3 separate regions of the Homo sapiens genome follow, and regions 1 and 2 are each linked to region 3. Evidence: promoter capture Hi-C in 16 types of primary human blood cells and fetal thymus (Javierre and others, 2016). All regions are on one chromosome and are shown on one strand. The core of a region is centred on a gene start or on the middle of the fragment in contact, and the rest is flanking DNA. Distances in the headings are between cores, read along the strand shown. Region 1 overlaps LOC101927118 (a long non-coding RNA gene). Region 2 overlaps LOC101927118 (a long non-coding RNA gene). Region 3 holds the start of FABP5 (fatty acid binding protein 5).

Region 1 (3,498 bases), core at 391-2,890, 280 kb before region 3:
CTTGTGGGTGTGTTTCTTTCTTTATTATTCTTCTTTCTTTTTTCTCTGTTGACTGTGTATTTTCAAATAGCCTGCCTTCAAGATCACTAATTCTTTTGCTTTATCAGTTCTGCTGCTAAGAGACTTTTATGCATTCTTCAGTATGTCAGTTGCATTTTTCAGCTTCAGAATTTCTGCTTGATTCTTTTTAATGATTTCAATCTCCCTATTAAATTTATCTGATCAGACTCTGAATTTCTTCTTTGTGTTATCTTGAATTTCATTGTTTCCTCAAAATTACTTATTACCTATCTGAAATGTTATGTATTTCTGTCTCTCCAGGATTGGTCACTGGTACCTTATTTAGTTCATTTGGTGAGGTCATATTTTCCTGGCTGGTCTTGATGTTTGTGGAGGTTTGTCAGCATCTGGGCATTGGAGAATTGGGTATTTATTATAGTCTTTGCAATCTGGGCTTGTTTGTACCCATCCTTCTTGGAAAGGCTTTCTAGGTATTTGAAGGGACTTGCATGCTGTGATCTAAGTGTTTGATCACTGTAGCTGTATCTGTTTAGGGGTATCACAAGCCCAGTAATGCTGTGGCTATTGCAGACTCATAGAGGTACCACCTTGGTGGACTTGGATAAGATACAGAAGAATTATCTGGATTAACAGGCAGAGACTGGTCTTCACTCCTTCATTTCCCTCAAACAAAGTATCTCTCTGTGTGCTGAGCTGCCTGGAGCTGCGGGAGGGGTGGCCCAAGCACCCCTGTGGCCACCCCCACTGGGTCTGTGCTGGGTCTGACCTAAAGCTTGCAAAGCACTGGGTCTCACACAAGTCCTGCTGTAATCATTGCCTGACTACCACTTACATTTGCTCAAGGCTGAAGGCCCCAGGACTCTTATGATGAGAGGTTGTGAAGCCAACCAGGCTTGTATCCTCTCCTTAGGTAAGTAAGTTCCCCCGGATCCTGTGCAGGTCCAGAGATGCCATCTAGAATCCAGGGCCTAGAGTCAGAAACCTTAGGAATCTATGTGGTCCTCTATTCTACTGCAGCTAAGCTGGCACCCAAGCCACAAGATGAAGTTCTTCTCACTCTTTCCCTTTCCACAAGCAGGGGAGTCTCTTCTCTCCTGTGGCCACCACTGCCCCAGGCCCACAGTGAGTACTGCCTGGCTACCACCAATGTTCATTCAAGGCCCAAGGGCTCTTCAGTCAAGCTGTGGTAAATGCCAGATGTGGAACTCTCCCTTCAGGGCAGTGAGCTCCTGACTGGTCCAGGGCAGGTCCAGAAATGACATCCAAGAGCCAAGGCCTAGAATTGGGAACCCCAAGATGACACCTGGTGTTCTACCCTACTGTGGCCAAGCTGGTAGGTAAGCTACAAGACGAAGTCCCTTTACTTTTCCCTCTCTTTTTCTCAAGCAGAAGGGGTCCCTCCCCACAGCCACCCAAGGTGGGAAAAGACTGGGTCACCCCTGAAGCCAACACATCTCTGAGTCTTACCCAAGGGCTATAGTGATACTGCCGGGGTACCACTGCTGATTATTCAGGGCTCTTTAGTCAGCAGGTGATGAATCCTGCCAGAACTGGGTCCTTCCCTTCAAGGCAGCAGGTTCCCTTCTAGCCCAGGGTGTATCTGGGAGCTGGCATCTGGGATAGGGGCCTCAGGACTTTGCCTGATGCCCTATCTTACTGTGGCTGAGCTGGTATCCAAGTTGCAAGATAAAGTTTTCTTTATTCTCCCCTCTCCTCAAGTGGAAATAATCCCTTTTGGGGCTGGGAGCTGTACTGCCTGGTGTTGGAAGAGGCATGACACAAGCACTTCTCTGGATACCCTGGATAGTAGCTTACTATGTCATGTGCATCCCAAGTTCACTGGCTCCAATCCTAGCACTGCACCAGGACTTTCCTGGGAATTGCAGTCCTTATGGCCTAGACTGGCCTCTAAGTTTATTTAGGACCCCAGAGCACTTTGCCCCTCAGTGATGGGGCTAGCTGGAACTCAGGTTCCAAACACTGGGATGGATAACTCACCTCTGCCTAGGGCTGGCCTCAGTTCTCCCTCTGTGGGCACCGGCTGAGTTCTTCTAGTGTTGCTTTCGGCTTTGACAGGGCAGTACTGAGTTCCAATGCAAAGTCCCACAATCACCGTGCCCTCCTTCCCCCATGCACACAGATTCTATCTCTGTGCCATTGGTGATTCAAGACTGTCTTTCCTACCCTCTTCAGTGCCTCTCTCAGTGATATGAAGTTAAAACCAGATACTGTGATCACTCACCTGATTTTTGCTTCATATGAAGGTGATTTATGTGTGGATAGTTGTTCAATTTAGTGTTTCTGCAGGGAGAACAATGGGTGAAGGCTTCTATTTGGCCATTTTGTCTACCTTCCATATCACCAATATGTTTTAGGACCTTAGGTACAGTACTAGAAGAGAAAAAAATCAGTTTATGCCACTTTATTTTTTGCCAGTGGGTTCTCAACTTTTCAAACTTAAGCTTGGACCAATCTATTATATAGATTATTTTCCCATTTATGAAGTACTTTCATATGCACTGTTATCATTTTATTCTTTCAGAAAGAGTGGGAGATAATTACTCTGTTTTAGAGATTTGGAACTGAGAACAATTAGGACTTGCCCGAGCTCTCACAGTGACCAAAAATAGACTAGACTAGGAAGAAAAAATTCTGCCAGTTTTCCACCAAATCCTGTTGCTTCTAGGGGCTGGGAAAAGAGAACGAGAGGTTCTTAGAAAAGACATGTGATACAAACATAGAGTGGGATGAGAAGTTGTGTGCAGAGAAGGGTGGCCGGGTCACCTTCCCTCCTTTGCCCCGCAGCATTGTGGCTCCTCAGGCCACAGTAACACCCTGAAGATACAACAGCCAAATGTGAGTTCAACACGGAGGTTACTTTTGCTTTCCTCACTTACTACCTAGAAGCAGCACAGCCTAAGGATTAAGAGCATGGACTTTAATGTCACAGCGTCCTTGCTTAGCTCTGCCACCTACCAGCTTGTGTGCTCCTGGGGGAACTCAATCTCTGCAGTCTGTGCTTCTGTAAAATGGAGATAATATTTCTCTTATTTGTTGCTGAGGAGACTAAATGAGGTAATGATGACTCCTACAGAGTTCTTGAGGAACTTGGAAGAAATAAAAGATGAGATTTTTAAAAATCTGCAGTAAATTGCATGTATGGTCTAGACTTTCAAAGTTGTGTTCCTCTGGCTGAATACAATCCACTAATGTGTTTTGTCTGGCTGATGGGGGGATGGCCTGTCCAGTATTTAGAATGTAAAACAACCTTTTTTGAGGCCAATAAAACAAGGCTATTTGTTCACAAAAAACAGAAAAAAAGAAAGGAAAATAAGATGAGAAATGCCTTGACTATAATTTAAAGATGGTGTTGCATTTAAATTTTTCCTTCAATTTGTAAATTAGAGCTTTGTTCCAGCATCTTCTCTTGAGTTTAGAGGTAAGGTGAGTCTCTCCAAATCCTGTCATCTCAGCATA
Region 2 (3,254 bases), core at 82-2,581, 260 kb before region 3:
TAGCCTGAAGCTAATTAGTTTCGTAAGTACATGTATGATCACAAAGCCAGAGATGGAAGTGCTCTGCCTTCAATGACAATGTCTTTTACTACTGGATATTTCATTGTAATTTTTAGACTCCGAAGTGTGAAAATGTTAAGCTTAAAGGTCCTAAATTGGAGATTATATCAGAATATTTTATAAAGCTTTTGATAGAACAGTGGATTTTCTTCCCACAGTTTTCACTGAAGTCAACCCTTAGAGCACAGGTTGCCTTTTCCACAGCAGCAAGGGGCCAATGTTGTCAGGTAGTCTTTGTCCTCCACACCTCCCACCCCTGCCAGCTATCCTGACTCACCAAATTTTGCAACTGTTTTAATCACTGATGTTGTGAAAGATATTAATCTCATCTCTATTCTGCTCAAAATGTGGGAAAATCTTTTCTCAGTTCATCAGCAACAAGATTAGACCTTTTCAAAAGAGGAGATTAGAAATCAGACACATAAAAGTTAGAAATGGGTGCATGCGTAAATATGGATTAGTGACCCAATGGCTTGTCTGCAGATCACTGGCAACTTGAGTACACTCTGCACTCCCAGAGAGTTGCATATTGGTTATCCATGACCTATCCCTCACCTGTAGACTTGTGGGAATATCCAGCCCCATCCAGAGCTCATTTATGACTCAGAGAGATGTGGAATCCCATAAGCTTTTCCCTGTGTCCTCTCACCAGGTTGGTTCTAGCTTTCGGGTCCTTGTAGGGTTGCCTCAATTACCTCCAAGTCATTTGACTGCTGGTCTTCCTGTTCCCTTAAAAATCCCTGTGCCATGGTCCCATTCAGACCATATTTCCCAAAGATGATAGTTGCCAAGATGCCCCAAGGTGAGTGCCCAGTGTTACCCTATATAAAGCAAGAACCCCCCCAGGCTCCCTTATGACAGACTGGGTCAGGAACATTTTTAAGGAGTAAGTTCTCCTGATTTTTAAGAGTAAGTTCTCCTGATGTTTAACTTTCAGCATTTCACTTCGTTCCCTTTCCTCAAGAGAAGGAGGTCAAGGCCAGTAGCTCCCGGGAAGTTTCCCTTTTCTCCATTCTGGCTGGGATTTTATAACAATACTCCATCAGCAAATTGTCTTTACAGAGTCAGTAGGTTCTTGTTTTTGAGACTTCACTGACACAAAAGTAAAGAAAGTCTGGCCCTAGAGGAAGTTGTTTACCTTTCTAGTTTTATTCCCAGGCCTCTAGTGGCTCCTAGACATTACCTCTAGGCTCAGATCCTGTTGAAAGATTTTCTTTGTCTTTTTTTTTTTTTTTTTTTTTTTTTTTTTTTAAACCCTGGGACTCCTGGAAGTCCAGTCCTATTTGTTGAGCTGTTGATTGGGAAGTATTTCTACACGCTGTCCTATTTCTGGATACTTCCAAGTCATGGTCGGATCTGACAAGTAAAGCACAACATCTGAGGTTATAGTAACAATAGATAGAAATCCAAGTATCGTCAGCATGGGAGACACATGGAGACTTCTAGAAGGCAGTACTTAAAATACCAGGCAGGTTGACTGTCAGCAAGAGGGAAGCCTTTGGCAGGTAGCAGGTCCACAGGCACAGAGTAAGGGATCAAAGGCAAAACTCCATTCAGTTAAAAAAGAAAAAACCTTGCAAACACAAGATATGGTCTGAGCCTCATCAGGGGTGTTACCATGCAAGGACTGAGGCCAGGGGAATTGCTCAGAAACTTAGCAGTCAGAATTAGTTTGCAAATTGAGCGTGGGGGTCTCAAAAGTACACAGATGCTCAATAATCGAAACTGATATGTATTTCAGGTCCAGACAAGATTGAGCTAATGTTAATTCCCAGGCTGATGGTAAACAACAGGGCTTCTCAAATTTTATTGTATGTTTAAACAATTCACCAAAGAAATCTTTTGAAAAATGCATGTTTTTGATTCAGTAAATCTGGAGTTGGTTCTGATCATCTGCAATGCTAACAAGCTTCCAGGTGATGCAGATACTGCATATCTGTGATACACGCTTTGTGTGTGTGTCTTTTTATATTTGTTGATTTTTTTTTTTTTTTTTGAGACAGAGTCTCACTCTGTCAACCAGGCTGCAGTGCAGTGGCGTGATCTCGGCTCACTGCAACCTCCACCTCCCGGGTTCAAGCAGTTCTCTACCTCAGCCTCCCAAGTAGCTGGGATTACAGGCACCCACCACCAAACCTGGCTAATTTTTTGTATTTTTAGTAGAGATGAGGTTTCACTATCTTGGCCAGACTGGTCTTGAACTCCTGACCTCGTGATCCACCCGCCTCGGCCTCCCAAAGTGCTGGGATTACAGGTGTGAGCCACCGTGCCTGGCCTTGATTTGTTTTTAAATGTTGAAATAATTTTTGGTTTACAGAGAAGTTGCAAATACAGTACAGAGCTCCCACATACCCTTCATCCTGCTTCCCCTAATGTTAACATCTAACGTGTATATTTTTCAAAACCAATAAATGAACATTGCTACAATACTAGCAACTAAACTATAGACTTTATTTGGATTTCTCCATTTGTTCTACTAATGTTTCTTTCTGTTCCAGGATCCAATTTGGGATCCCACATTGCATTTGGTCATCATGTTTCCTTAGTTTCCACAGATCTGTGACAATTTCCCAGGTTTTCCTTGTGATTCATGACCTTGACAGTTTGAAGAGTATTTTGTAGAATATCCCTCAATTTTGTCTTCATATATCTGAGATTACATGAAGATTAAATTTGGGTTATGAGTGTTTAGGAAGACCACAGAAGTGAAATGCCTTCTCATTGCATCCTAGCAGAGGGTACATGACAGCATGACTTTACACTGGGGATATTAAACTTGATCCTGTGGTTAATGTGATATTTACCAGTTTGCTGAAGTTACTATTTTTCCCTTTTCACACTCTGTTCTTTGGAAGTGAGTCTAAGTGTGGTCAATGGTTCTCATATTTGAGCATGCATCAGAATCACTTGGAGGACTTATAAAAACTATGCTCTTTTTTCAGTTTCTGATTCAGCAGGCCTGGGGCTGGGGCCAAGAATGTGCATTTCTAAAAAGTTCTTTGGTGATGGTGATGCCGCCTAGTCCAAAGCCCACACTTTGAGAACTACTGGTCTAGAACATTTGTCCTTAGTTGCTGAGCCTTAGACTTCAGTCAGAATTGCCTGGGAATAATTTTAGAAATATATATTCCCAGGCTTTGTCCTTGGCAATTCTGACCTATGCCGGCTCATAGGAGTTGGCATTTTTACAAATG
Region 3 (3,101 bases), core at 423-2,922:
AAACTTGTACACACACACACACACACACACACACACACACTGTTATTTATTGGACAGGTGCAGTAAATCGCTTTTTCCAGAGTCATCTTGATGTAGGTTTACAAGGAAAAAGAAAAATACTGCCTTCTTTACTGATAGTATCAAAAATACACTCATGATTCACCATAAACCAGCCTTAACACCACATGGTCTTGGATAAAGGGTACTGAAGGAGTGATTCCGAAGTGCCACGGCGACCAGGTATCAATAGAGGGTCACGGTAGTTATTTCACCAGCGAGCAACCGGGTTAACATTTGTGGATACCGGCTTCTGAAGCACCCTCATAAATCCCAGCCATCCCTTAGGGCTGGAAGCTCCCTTCCAGAGAGGATCCATGCTATGCTAACTCCATCTCACTTCCTAGTGGCCTGTGACAAAGGTCCATTTTTGTTTGCAATTTATCCAGTGTCTCAATCAGCATGCAATCTGTCACTGGCATAGAAAAGGACAGTAATTTATAATGAAGCACTGTTTTGAGTGAGAAATGAATCTTACTACTGAGATTCATTCTCCCTCGGAACGCTTCAAGAAGTCATCTGCCTTCTGCAGGGCCACACCCATCTTGCATGCAGTTAGCCGCAGGAGGGCCAGGCAGTTTCTGTTACGGTTTTCCAGCAAAGCCCACTGCCTCCTTCCTCCTCACCCTCAAGTGGCAGAGGCCAGGATGGCAACACACGGCCACCCCCAGGCCTCATTGCGCTCCTCCCACAGGCCACCCGCCCACTGCGGCGCCCCGGCCCGGCAGTGCCAGCAGCAGGTCGGCACCGCCAGCGCCACGCTTCTCGGGGGCCCTGGTGTTCCATGGGGTACCAATCCAAAGGGTTCGGCTCAACTGGTAAGGGCGAGCAGAGGACCTGGGGGAGACGGGGCTGACAGAGGAATGCAAGCTGAAGCTGTAGCGCCACTCAGACCCCTCCACAGGATTTCTGCGGGAAACTGCGCGCCAGCACCGCGTCCCCATGAAGAAAACGGAGGGTGACCTGCGCGCCACAGGGAACAAAAGATGCGACAGGGAGGGAAAGGGGAGTGGGTGCTGCCACGATGGGGTAAATGGGAGAGACAGAATGGTGGCAGGAAGGGGAAGGATGAGTAAAGGGGGAAAAAAGGGAAATACAGGGTCGCCTGGAGGGGGTCGAAAGAAGTGCAGCGTGAGGTGACGGGTGCGCGCGCTAAAGGACAGGAAGCAATGCGGAAGGGCTGCCGTTTGGGCGAAGGGAAAGAAGCAGAGGTAGGTGGACCACGGGGTGGACCACCTCCGGAATCTTGCGGCCCGCGGGCGGGCAAGAGGCGCGCACGCTCCCTGCTCCTCGCCGCCTGCCCGCGTGGTGCTGCGCGCGCTGCACCCAACGGCCGCGTGGTGGGGAAGATGGGAGGGGATGGGGGTAGGCCGCCGAGCATCTCCTGCCCCAGAATCTGGCACGCTGACGGGGACCTAGGGACAGACGACCGCACAACACGCCACGTTGCAGGCGCTGCCAGGCCGGGTGCCTCACCTAGCTCCTTCATGTATTCATCAAAGCCTTTGCTGTCCACCAGGCGCCATCTTCCTTCCAGCTGCTGAACTGTGGCCATGGTGGGTGCGGGCGGGCTGGCGTGCAGAGAGGGGTCTGCGTCGGCGTGGCAGCGTGCTGTGAGGCACCCGGCGCCGGCGGCTGCTTTATAACGGCGGCCCGCGCTGGGCGGCGCTATGCGGCCAATGGGAGGCGGGCCTCGCCCGGTCCCCGCCCCGCCCGCCGGGCGCCCCCTGGGCCTTCTCGGGGTCGGGAGGTGCTAACCAGCTCCTCTTGCCAGGGTACGCGACGGCCTCTCGGGCGCCTCCTGCAAGCAGGGACTCGCCCGGCGCGCCCCACGCCTCATGGACGCCGGCGCCTGCACGTTTCGGCGCCTCTGCAGGCCCAGGAAGCCAGAGGGGTCACCTGGAGGCCTGGCCCCGCCTCTCCTGCACCCCTCCGTTTGACAACATATCCACCGCCGTTTTTCCTTTCAAAATACCCGGACCAATCGATTAGCCCTCGCCGGACTCGGACTGCAGGAAGTGATTGATCGGCTGTTTGGTTTATTGATTCATTAACTACGGTGCCTCCCTGACCTTCTGCTCCTCGCCAGCGCACAAGCTCACAATCCACACCCTCCTAAGAGAACCTGCTCTCGCCATCCGCAGGTCTCCCTGGCCCAATAGTGGGGATATACCTGAGTTGAGCTAGAGGATTTTATCCCTGTTGGGATGGGGGACGTCTCGGGAAGTGTGGTTTCTAAACTAAAAGACTGCAGGAAGTGTCAACTTTAGTGACTGTCATTGCCATTCAAGAATGTTTGATTAGTTTATATTCCCTTCGTAGTGCACCCTTCACCGTTTCTTCTCAGACACCAGCGGGTTTCTTCTCAGACACCAGCGGGTTCCCTCTTTCTCTTGAACTATAATAATACCCTACACATGTGCGTAGAACATGATACGTTTCAAAGTGTACTCTTCACAATTTATTACTTGGTGCTCCCGGGTGCCTGTTGGAAGTCAGATGGACTGAGGTGAGGAAGTTGCCACACAGGCTGGCCGTTTCGATAGCGGTAATGTGCATTTATTGAGTAGCTACTAAGTGCTAGATGTGCTTCCTGGGCACTTTATAGACATTGGTCTCCACTATATTTTTGCTAGGGGTGTTATCCCAATTTTTCAAAAGAGAAAATAGGGCAAAGATAGTTCTCACAGTGGTAGAACCAGAATCCCCATCCAGGTCCGTCTCACTGAAGACCTTATGAAATCAGACCACACCTGACTGCCTTGGGCTCAGGGTAGCTGTGATGGAGCTCTGAGTAGACCACAGTCACCGAGACACTACTAGTTCTTGTATCATCCTTGACAAAATTGAAATCTGAGGTTGGTTTGCTATCTCCCAACATGCTGCAGGACATGTACTCCCCTGAACTGCATCCCTTTCATTTCAAGTCCCTGCCCTCAGTTTAGGGTCACACCAGTCTTCCTTGTGGTACCATTTAACACTCAATTGTTTTCCCAATAAGGGTCTGCATGTCCCACACCCGAGGCCCTACTGCTCAGAAAATA

What was found. The method cuts DNA at HindIII sites, captures the fragments that hold promoters and counts their contacts. A CHiCAGO score of 5 or more calls a contact.
Region 1: a contact is called between a fragment that was not itself captured here and the fragment with the promoter of FABP5 in region 3, in 4 of 17 cell types (M2 macrophages, M1 macrophages, M0 macrophages and 1 more). The highest score is 15.5, in M2 macrophages.
Region 2: a contact is called between a fragment that was not itself captured here and the fragment with the promoter of FABP5 in region 3, in 4 of 17 cell types (M0 macrophages, M2 macrophages, endothelial precursors and 1 more). The highest score is 11.9, in M0 macrophages.

The regions. Positions count from the first base shown.
Region 1 is chr8:81,560,287-81,563,784 of GRCh38, reverse strand. It overlaps LOC101927118 (a long non-coding RNA gene), which reads right to left. Exons shown (of 9, transcript XR_001745980.2): 5 at 2,998-3,128; 6 at 2,264-2,412. It also overlaps a transcript of FABP12 not described here. Among named protein-coding and RNA genes, the nearest start is that of FABP12, 28 kb to the right of the region's middle. The HindIII fragment of the contact is 1,690 bases long and covers 796-2,485 here.
Region 2 is chr8:81,539,968-81,543,221 of GRCh38, reverse strand. All of the region lies in intron 3 of LOC101927118 (a long non-coding RNA gene), which reads right to left. It also overlaps a transcript of FABP12 not described here. Among named protein-coding and RNA genes, the nearest start is that of FABP12, 7.7 kb to the right of the region's middle. The HindIII fragment of the contact is 1,281 bases long and covers 691-1,971 here.
Region 3 is chr8:81,279,107-81,282,207 of GRCh38, reverse strand. FABP5 (fatty acid binding protein 5) reads right to left here and starts at 1,672. Exons shown (of 4, transcript NM_001444.3): 1 at 1,534-1,672. The coding sequence starts at 1,612. It overlaps LNMICC (lncRNA associated with lymph node metastasis in cervical cancer), which reads left to right and starts at 784. Exons shown (of 2, transcript NR_186603.1): 1 at 784-875; 2 at 1,832-3,101. RefSeq lists enhancers at 360-1,194, 1,195-2,029 and silencers at 1,624-1,913, 1,924-2,003. The HindIII fragment of the contact is 5,532 bases long and covers 1-3,101 here.